2 separate regions of the Homo sapiens genome follow, and region 1 is linked to region 2. Evidence: promoter capture Hi-C in 16 types of primary human blood cells and fetal thymus (Javierre and others, 2016). All regions are on one chromosome and are shown on one strand. The core of a region is centred on a gene start or on the middle of the fragment in contact, and the rest is flanking DNA. Distances in the headings are between cores, read along the strand shown. Region 1 holds the start of LRP1 (LDL receptor related protein 1). Region 2 overlaps BAZ2A (bromodomain adjacent to zinc finger domain 2A).

Evidence for each region. The method cuts DNA at HindIII sites, captures the fragments that hold promoters and counts their contacts. A CHiCAGO score of 5 or more calls a contact.
Region 1: a contact is called between the fragment with the promoter of LRP1 here and a fragment that was not itself captured in region 2, in 1 of 17 cell types (monocytes). The highest score is 5.2, in monocytes.

The regions. Positions count from the first base shown.
Region 1 is chr12:57,125,096-57,130,055 of GRCh38, reverse strand. It overlaps LRP1 (LDL receptor related protein 1), which reads right to left and starts at 1,573. Exons shown (of 89, transcript NM_002332.3): 1 at 1,025-1,573. The coding sequence starts at 1,091. RefSeq lists an enhancer at 1,913-2,566. The HindIII fragment of the contact is 5,123 bases long and covers 1-4,960 here.
Region 2 is chr12:56,608,820-56,614,337 of GRCh38, reverse strand. BAZ2A (bromodomain adjacent to zinc finger domain 2A) reads left to right here. Exons shown (of 29, transcript NM_001300905.2): 4 at 200-385; 5 at 1,105-1,323; 6 at 2,092-2,565; 7 at 2,705-2,765; 8 at 3,821-3,929; 9 at 4,123-4,224; 10 at 4,392-4,602. Among named protein-coding and RNA genes, the nearest start is that of BAZ2A, 19 kb to the left of the region's middle. The HindIII fragment of the contact is 1,811 bases long and covers 1,863-3,673 here.

The DNA.
Region 1 (4,960 bases), core at 324-2,823, 520 kb before region 2:
CTGACAAAAAAAGGGAAGAGAGGCACCCCATTTCCCCAAAAGGATGCAGTTCTAGCCTAAGCCTAACTCTGCAATATACAAAGTGTGTGTGTATGGGGTTTTGGGCTTGGAGGGGTGCAGGGAATAAACAGATTTACTAAAGGAGTGTGGGGGCACAGCCATAATCCCCATCCAACCTCCAACTCTCCTTCCAATCCAAACTGTGATGAAGCCAGAAGTCAGGAAGAAGGCAGCCTCCCCCACCCTCCTACCCCAGCATTCCAGGCCATTCTCCAGTCCCCTTCCCCAGTGATGACATCTGACGTTTTTTCATCTCAAAGCTCCCAGGAATTAAGAAGGAAAATTCAAAGTCACATAGTATGGCGAGCTCCCCCTCTCTGCCCCCCAACACAGCCCTACCCCAGGCTACTGACAGAGGCCCTGAGAGGGGGAAGAGCCTACTTCAGCACCCAGGCCTCCAGCCGGGGCTCTGGGGTCGATTCCACGCCCAAGCAGGGGGCCCTCCCTCTCCCCACCCACAGCCTTCCCGGGCCTGCCTGCCCTCTGCCCGGCAGGGTACCCCTGGCCTGGCTCCCCTTTCGAGCTACAGAGGCCAGTGCAAAAGCCACCCCCCCCACCCCCACCCCCTTTTGCAGCCGAACATTGCAAATCCGGATTCCTTCACAATTCAGATGGGGGGTGGGGGGTTGTGAGGATGTAGGGGAGGCGGAGGCCCTCCCCGAACAGAGATAGGAAAAGAAGGCCTCTCCTCCCCAGGATCAGAAAAATGGGGAGCCCTCTTCTCTCTACCCAGGCCTCTGGTCTTTGTTTGTGCTGGGGGGCCCCGGAAGCATCATTTGCCCAGGGCCCCCATCCCCCAAATCGGACCCCATCCCCGCCCCCAGTCGGGCCGCTGCTGTGTCAGCTGGACTGGGATAACAAAAGGCACCCCCTCCCGCGTCTCCCTTCCCCATCCGTATGCAGGAGTGGGGGCTGGGGAGAGGGTGCCCCCAGGGGTCCAAGGGGGACGCGGAATCTCACTCACCGTCGATAGCCGCCGCGACCAGAGCTGAGAGCAGGGGCAGCAGCAGGAGCAACGGCGGGGTCAGCATGGTGTGGGCTGATGCAAGCAGCAGCCCCTTCCCCTCTGGTCCTGCTACTTCTCTCCTTCACCCCCCCCAGTTGGGGGGTCCCCCTTTTCCTCCTTTCCCCCTCCTCCTTCTCTGTTCTTATTCTTTCCTTCGGCAAAGCGCACCAGGGGCGTGGGTGAAGAGGTAGAGTTCCGAGCCCCTTGGGGAGGGCCTGCTGACGGGGGTGCGCCCCCTGCCCCGAAATCCAAACCCTTCACCCCACCCCCCCGCTTCACTCCTCGCTGCTCTTTCCCCCTCCCCGGGCGAAGCTCACAGCCCCATCTCGGAGCCGCCTCCGGCTGCAAAAATGCACAATTGGGAGGAGGCGGGGAGGGGGGGTGGGGGGCGTGGACCGGGTAGGGGAGCCTTTGGAGGGGGCTTGATGGAGCTCTGGGGGCTCCCCTTGTTTCCGCCTCCTCAGTGCATGGGCCTGGAGCTCGCACCGCTGTTCCCCGGACTGAAGTGCCGAGGGGGGGGCTGATGGGGGAGAGGGAGGGGACGGGTTGAGGAGGGAGGGAGGGAAGGGGCGGGGAAAGAAAAAAGGTTGGTGGGTGGGGGGAGAAAGAGCTACGCGGCAATCCAGTGAGTGCGCATGCGCCGATTTGACGCGCTGCCCGGGGGAGGGCGACGCGGACCCGCGACAGGGTTCGGAGTTCTGGAAAGCGGTCCAAGAGTGAGGGTCCCGGGGACTCGCTGGCTAGTTTGGGGCCTGGGGCGCCCTCTCCCCTGGCTGGGCCCTCCTCCCTGGTGCTCCAGAGAGCAGAAGGGGTCGAGGGTGGGATTGGGCAGTGGGCGGAGAGCTGAGCGGCTCCCCTTTGAAACTCAGTGTCATACTCTAGGATTTCAGGCTCCCTCCGGGGGCGTCCGGGACTCAGTGGTCTGGGCCGAGGCTCGATTTTCTAGGGGAACCCTGAAGGTGCCTCCTCTGCCCGGGGTGGGGACAGGGACCGCCAGTCCGCGGGGAAGGTGCAGGGAAAGGCTGAGCTTTGATTTGGAGACTTTGGAAGACCGGACTGGGATTGGGGCCTGCGAAGGAGGGGGCGGGGTTGGGGAGGGACCGCGAGGACCCGCCCCCACCTCGCTCCCGGGCTCGGAGTAAACAGGGACACCCGAGGGGACACGCCGGAGCTTGTCCGCCCGCGTGGGGCTCGGGGATGGAGCCCACCTTAGTACCCGCCCGCCCTGCTCGCCCAGCCCTAGGCGCGGGAGGGGCAGGCCCTGGTTTGGAGGGAGGTGAGTCACCAGCGGGTGGGGTTGAGGAAAGGCCACCCCCTTTCGCCCAAGAAGTCGGGGCTCATTTATTTTTCTGTTTTTTTTTTTTTTTTTTTTTTTAATACCTTCTGACTGGCTTGCCATCAAGTTAGGGTTTTAGATTCCGAGCGCCAGGATTTGGAATAAGATGAGGGACTCTGGACCTTCGTTTCCAGGCCTCGGGTTCCAAGGAGGTGTCTGCTGAGCGCCGGACCTTTGTCCCCAGGCTCAGCCCACACGGGAATGATACTTTGCAGAAGGCAGGCGCCAGGCGGTTCCCAGGGGCCAGTGAACGTGCTTTTGGTCACTGCCCCCTTCTGGGCGGCGTTTTATGGCTGTTACCTTAGTGTCTGACTTTCTAGGTGTCTGCATGTCAGAGTTCAAGGAGCGGGGCAGACGACGTCGGCTGCCAAAAATTGACGCTGGAGAGGAGGGACTGTTCCCCCTTTTACGTTCTAGTTACGGAAAAGTCCCCACTCCAGTCTGTCCTTGGCAGAAACAGGAGCAGCACGAAGGACTTGCCTCCTAATGACAGTGAGCTCAACCTTTAGCTTCTTCCAGCCGGCTTTGCTCAGCGCGGTGGCCACCTGCCTTTAGTCTCCTGGGCTAGAAACCTCAGACTTTATGCCAACTCAAGGGGGCCTTTCCTTCCTATATCCAATCTTGCCAGCCTGTGCTCCAGGCTTGTCATTTTTTTCCTCTGAAGTATATCTCAGATTTCCTCCATTTCCACTGCCAGAGAGTTGCTCCAGGCAGGAACGGGGTCTTATTTCTCCTTTTATCCAGCTCCCATGGCCCAACACAATGTGAGACGCACTATGCGGACTCACCAAATGCCTACGAGGTTCCTCCCAGGGCCCCTCCCAGTATTGGGATCCAAGTGAAATCAGGTCGAAACAGACTTTAGACAGCTTGACAGCTTTGAGAGGAAAACGGTATCTGGAGCAACCACATGTAGCCTGAGGGCTTGAAGGGGCTTTCCTCCCTCCCCCTACCCATCTGTCAGGTGAATCTTCCAAAAACTGCTTTCCCGGTGTCTCTTCCTTGCTGGGGAACCTCTAGTGGGTGTCTATAGACCAGTCAAATGTGAACTCCTCTTCAGTCATGGCTTTCCAAAACCTGGCCTCAGTCAGCATGCACTTCTCACTTGCAACCTCCCATCCCCTGCTGTCTCCTGAATGTGAATGTGTATTTTTATTAACTTTATATTGTTAAAAAAAAAAGAAAGAAAGAAAAGATAATACCTAGTGGTTAAAAAAAGTACAGGAAGGTAAAAAGTAAAAGGAAACTTGATGCTCTCCACACCCCCATTTTTCAGCTGCACCCTCAGAGTAACTTCTACTAACAGTTCTTCAGGTCTCCCCTACCAGCAGAGGTTTCCCCCCCGCCCAAGACGGAGTCTTGCCCCGTTGCCCAGGTTGGAGTGCAGTGGCCTAATCTCGGCTCACTACAACCTCTGCCTCCCGGGTTCGGCGATTCTTCTGCCTTGACCTCCCAAGTAGCTGGGATTACAGGCACACGCCACTATACCCAGCTAATTTTTTTTGTATTTTTGGTAGAGATGGGGTTTCACGATGTTGGCTAGGCTGGTCTCGAACTTCTGACCACGTGATCTGGCCTCCTCAGCCTCCCAAAGTGCTGGGATTACAGGCGTGAGCCACCGTGCCCGGCCAGGAGAGTTTTTAAAACAGTAACATACAGGCCAGGCGTGGTGGCTCATGCCTGTAATCCCAACACTTTGGGAGACGAAGGTGGGAGGATCACTTTTCAGGAGTTCGAGACCACACTGGCCAACATGGCGGAACCCCATATCTACTAAAAATACAAAAATGAGCCACGTATCGTGACGCATACCTGTAATCCCAGCTACTGGGGAGGCTGAGGCACGAGAATCGCTTGAACCCAGGAGGTGGAGGTTGTGGTGAGCCGAGATCGTGCCACTGCACTCCAGCCTGAGCAACAGAGGGAGACCCTGTCTCAAATAAATAAATAAATAAAACAGTAACATACAAATATAAGTGAATATCCTTTAAAACTATAAAGAAACTCATATGATATATAGTGTTCTGTAACTTGCCTTTTTTTCAATTAACTTAGCTTGATCCCTTTCCATACCGTATGAACGCATTTAGCTCACCCTTTGATCTTGGCTACTTGGAATCTCCTTGCTTGGATGTTCCACAGTTTGTTGGGATTGTTGGGCACTTGGGTTATTTCCAGCAGGTGAACTGCTGAGGGTATGTCTGTAAGGTGAGAGAATGCATATTTATGTCTTTCTTTCTTTCTTTCTTTCTTTTTTTTTTTTGAGATGGAGTTGCACTCTTGTTGCCCAGGCTGGAGTGCAGTGGTGTGATCTCAGCTCACTGCAACCTCCACCTCCCAGGTTCAAGCGATTCTCCTGCCTCAGCCTCCCGAATAGTTGAGATTACAGGCACCCACCACCATGCCTGGCTCATTTTTGTGTTTTTAGTAGAGATGGGATTTCTCCATGTTGGCCAGGCTGGTCTTAAACTCCTGACCTCAGGTGATCCATGCACCTTGGCCTCCCAAAGTGCTGTGATTACAGGTGTGAGCCACCTCACCCTGCTGAGAATGCATAT
Region 2 (5,518 bases), core at 1,519-4,018:
TTTGCCTGCTGTAGGATTGATTTTACCAGCACATCTCTGCTCAGAGTATCTTGATGTGATCGGTTCCCAGCAATGAACTGGCCGCAATAAATGTTGAATGAATGAACATCCTTCTAGCAAAGATTGACTGCCTAGTATAGCTAAGTGAACCAATATAAGGCACTGATTTTGACTTTTGGTCTCTCCTGTGATTTCCTAGAACTGAAGATGTGTGGCTACAATGGCTCTGTCCCTTCTGTGGAATCGTTACACCAAGAGGTCTCAGTCCTGGTCCCTGACCCCACAGTGAGCTGTTTAGATGATCCTTCACATCTTCCTGATCAACTGGAAGACACTCCAATCCTCAGTGAAGACTCTCTGGAGCCCTTCAACTCTCTGGCACCAGGTAGGTTTGGAGGCTATGTCCCTTTAACTTATCCATGCAGAGTAGCCAAACTTTACCTGAAAGAGACAGTAAAATGGGAAAAGTATTAGGCAATCAGGGGCACTGGGGCTTCCAGGTAGGCCTAAGGCAGACCACAGTTACATGCCACAGGACTTGGTGCCCTAACTGAATTCTGAGCTGAATTGGTTCATGTCCCAGGTTCTTTCCCAGTATTCCTTTTGGCCAAGAGCTCTGGGCTGTAATAATTCACTGGGTAGGGACTTATTATCACACAGTTGATCTTTCTGGGTTCTGACAAACTAGGAAGAAAACATTTGTCAGTGAGCAGTTACCTTTTACTCCACTGAAGTACAAGAAAGACATATTTTATGATAAATCCTAGAATTTTGCATAGGTCTCTGGGTAGATAATACCACCAATGCCTTTCCTTTCATTTTCACCTTGTAGAGATGAGGTCTTGCTATGTTGTCCAGGCTGGTCTTGAACTCTGGCCTCAAGCAATTCTTCTGCCTCGGCCTCCCCTCAAACTTTTATGATCCCTATAATCTCATGACTACTCTTTCAGGGAGAAGGCTTTACTTGTTACCTAACTTAATATTAGGAAGAATCTTCACATTGTGGGAACTAGAATTGGATGTTTTCTGACCAGTGTTTCTTAAATCTTGCTTTCTGATTTTTTTCTCATTATCCTGCTCTGATTTTTCTACCCTTGTAAACAGAGCCAGTGAGTGGAGGACTATATGGTATTGATGACACGGAGCTGATGGGTGCAGAGGACAAGCTGCCTCTTGAGGACAGCCCTGTGATTTCTGCCCTTGATTGCCCTTCCCTCAATAATGCTACTGCCTTCAGTCTCCTGGCAGATGATAGTCAAACATCAACCTCTATCTTTGCCAGTCCCACCTCTCCACCTGTCCTAGGGGAGTCTGTCCTGCAAGGTAAGTGACGGTAGGTAGGACAAAGAAAGACCTTTACCTGAGAAAAGATGAGAGAATAAGTTTCATAGTTAGGGCCTTAAGAGTGGGAAATCTGGCTGGGCGCAGTGGCTCACGCCTGTAATCTCAGCACTTCGGGAGGCCGAGGCGGGTGGATCACCTGAGATCAGGAGTTTGAGACCACCTGGCCAACATGGTGAAACCCCGCCTCTACTAAAAATACAAAAATTAGCCAGGTGTGTTGGCACATGCCTGTAATCCCAGCTACCTGGGAGGCTGAGGCAGGAGAATCGCTTGGCCCCAGGAGGCAGAGGTTGCAGTGAGCCGAGATTGTGTCGTTGCACTCCAACCTGGGCAACAGAGCAAGACTCCATCTCAAAAAAAAAGTAGGAAAGCAAGAGCACCTTGCTGGGAGCTGAGGGGCTATGGGATAGTGTATGGTGGAACTAAAAGAGGTATAGGCTGCTATACTCCGACCTGTGCCCTCTGCTTTGAAGAACTTGTGAGACTTGGAATTTGTAGGGAGAAGGAGGCTAGAAGCTTTATTGGCACCAGGTAAAAGGTATTTCTTCACACAATGACATCTGTAGCAACTTTACCCTTTAATCCTCATGATTGGTTGGGAGAAAAAGCTACTTCTTTTTCCAACCCTAGGGAAGACCCCTTGAAGTAACCCTGTTTAGCTTGGTCCAGGGTTGACTGAGTAGATTCTCTTGTTTTATGTGATGCCTTTTTTTTTTTTAAAGCCTATCCTGTCCCTTTGGATTCTAGATAACAGCTTTGACCTGAATAATGGTAGTGACGCTGAACAGGAAGAAATGGAAACTCAATCTTCAGACTTCCCACCATCCCTGACCCAGCCAGCTCCTGATCAGTCATCCACTATTCAGCTACATCCAGCAACCTCACCAGCAGTCTCGCCAACAACCTCCCCAGCAGTCTCCCTAGTGGTTTCTCCAGCAGCCTCCCCAGAAATCTCTCCAGAAGTTTGTCCCGCAGCTTCTACAGTTGTCTCTCCAGCAGTCTTCTCAGTGGTCTCTCCAGCTTCCTCAGCAGTCCTCCCAGCAGTCTCCTTAGAAGTCCCGTTGACGGCTTCAGTGACATCCCCAAAAGCCTCTCCCGTAACTTCCCCAGCAGCTGCCTTTCCAACAGCCTCCCCAGCAAATAAGGATGTCAGCAGCTTTCTAGAAACCACTGCTGACGTGGAAGAGATCACTGGAGAAGGACTCACTGCTTCTGGTAGTGGTGAGTATCCAGATTCTATTCTATCCCTGTCTGGTTCCAAGAAACTTTTCTGTCCCATGTTGTAGTTAGCCTTTCCCTATTGGCCTATTGTTTAAATATTTTGCTTGAACTCTTAACTTGGGTATCCCTTCCTCCCAAGGTGATGTCATGAGGAGACGTATTGCTACCCCAGAAGAAGTTCGTCTTCCCCTCCAACATGGGTAAATGCTCTAGTTTGCTACATTTATTGACCTTGACAAGTTTAATGCACAACTCTAGAAAGAAGGGAATGCCTCTTTTCCTCTGAGGTGGGGGAGGAATGGGCCAGACAAGAGTAGATTACAGGACAGTTATCTGCAGTGATAATGTTTCTTGGCATGAGATTCCTAGGTTTTCCTTCTTCTCTCAAGGTCTGTCTTCCATCACCTATTCTTTTTTCATCTTGTAGTGACTCAATTTTGCCCAAGGAGCTCCAGCTATTATCTTTTCCAAACCCTAGGGCTCACATCCAAACCAGCTGGCTTGTCCTATTTCTGTGGACAAGGGATAGTAATGAATGAGGAGTGACTTAGTACTAATGAATTGAGGTGGTTTTGTTGTTTTAATGCTCTTAGGAGAGGTAAGGGCAGGAACAGTACATGACCAAAATGAACAAACTAGCTGACACCAGGGCCTTGTGGAAATAACTGCCTTCCTGGATCTTCCCCACCCCTGCCCCTCAAGGCTACTTGTGGTCACCAAGTCTGAGTACTGCTTAAAATTTTGAGAGAAAGATTAGAGTTAGTCTTAGAACTAACTCTGACTAACTTTGTGTTCTGCTCAGAACACAGAGTTCCTAACTAAACCCTGGCATATTGAGTCTTTTCATGGAATCAGCAGCAAATTTATTTTTCTGCTTGCCTCCCTGCCCTTTGTCTTCTGTCTTTATTCCCCTTAGGTCTTTATCCTCTTTACTGGAAATCCAGTAACTGCCCTGAATGGCTCAGGGAGGGGTTTCTGGCAGCTTATCTCACTGATTTTGTAAAGGAGGGATGGAGATCTCTCTGAGCTTGTGCAGTTTGGTGTAGTGCTTTTCTCCTAAGGGCCTTGATGTATTTGCTGGAGCTCAAGTCAGCCTTCTAGCCAAGCTTATCTCTCTTGGTGCTTTTGCATCTGCATGCAGTTCTAGAGATACAAATGTGGGGAGGGCCATCTGCTCAGAGGGCTTCGCGCTTAGGTGGCATGGGAGTGGGTAGGGGTGTGACCTGGCGGCAGGGCCCATGTGCTTCTCTGGCAGGTGGCGGAGAGAGGTGCGCATCAAGAAGGGCAGCCACCGATGGCAGGGGGAGACCTGGTATTATGGCCCCTGTGGGAAGAGGATGAAGCAATTTCCAGAAGTGATCAAGGTAATGTAGCTTTTTTTAAAGGACTGCTTTCTTGGGCTCAGTGGACTCCTTTCCACTGCCCAAGACTCCGTTCTTGGGCTCAGTGACAACAGGCTGGCATTGTCTGCTCTGGGCCTGTTCTGCTTATGCCTTTGCTGGCCAAAGACATGGTAGGATCCAACTTTATTAATGTTACTTTACTTCTTCCTCTTAGTACCTGAGCCGCAACGTGGTACACAGTGTCCGCCGAGAGCACTTCAGCTTCAGTCCCCGTATGCCTGTTGGAGATTTCTTTGAAGAAAGAGACACGCCAGAGGTGCAGACCCAAGGGTTAAATATGCTTTTGTCCCTGAGGAAGAGTTGGTGGACAAGCTGCAGCTTCCTCTCGTGGGGTTTGAAGGTTCTGGGGCATTGAATGGTTCCGAGGGCCTCGTGGCCTGCACTGATTCCTTACTACTGTAACAGTCTCCCTTGCTACCTTAGGGCTTGCAGTGGGTGCAGCTCTCAGCAGAGGAGATCCCGTCGAGGATTCAGGCAATTACTGGCAAACGGGGTCGACCTCGAAACACTGAGAAGGCTAAGACTAAGGAAGTCCCCAAGGTGAAACGGGGTCGAGGTCGGCCACCTAAGGTCAAAATCACTGAGCTATTGAACAAGACAGACAACCGCCCCCTAAAGAAACTGGAGGCCCAAGGTACAGTGGTATTTCTTACTTTGGGATTCTGCTCCCTCCATGAGGTATCTAAAATGTTGATGAATTGCTAATACCTGGATTTCCCAGGAGTGTAACTAACATTATCTGGGAAGAATGAATCTGAATCAGCTTCTCCTTGGAATCCAGCATCCTAGTCCCAGCGCTTGGGAATACTACTTTTCCAGCCATGGTCTTTCTTGAGTTGCTGTTACCAGTGAAACCTTGGGCTGCCCCCAGGTGTGTTTAGCCCAGAGGAGAGGACTTTCTTGCCCTTTCTTTCCATCTTTTAGCTCCTTATCATATACTGGTTCAGTTGTACCCTTTTACCTTACCCATTTCTACTATCATGGAGGTTCAGAATTCACATCTGAATTCAAAAGATAATTGGGAGCCAGGCATGGTGGTGTGTGCTTAATAATCCCAGTTACCCAGGAGGCTGAGGCAGGCAGCAGAGGATCACTTGAGCCCAGGAGTTTGGAGGCTACAGTAAACTTCAGTTGTGTTATTGCATTCCAACCTGGGCAACAGAGCAAGGCCCTGTTTCTAAAAAAAATAATAGGCCGGGCACAGTGTCTCACACCTGTAATCCCAGCACTTCGGAAGGCCAAGGCGGGCGGATCGTGAGGTCAAGAGATTGAGACCATCCTGGCGAACATGGTAAAACCCCGTCTCTACTAAAAATACAAAACAAAAAATTAGCTGGGCGTGGTGGTGTGTGCCTGTAGTCCCACCTACTTGGGAGGCTGAGGCAGGAGAATAGCTTGAACCTGGGAGGTGGAGGTTTCAGTAAGCTGAGATTGCGCCACTGCACTCCAGCTTGGTGATAGAGCTAGACTCTGTCTCAAAAAAAAAAAAAAAAAAAAAAAAAGCCAGGCACGGTGGCTCACGCCTGTAATCCCACCACTTTGGGAGACTG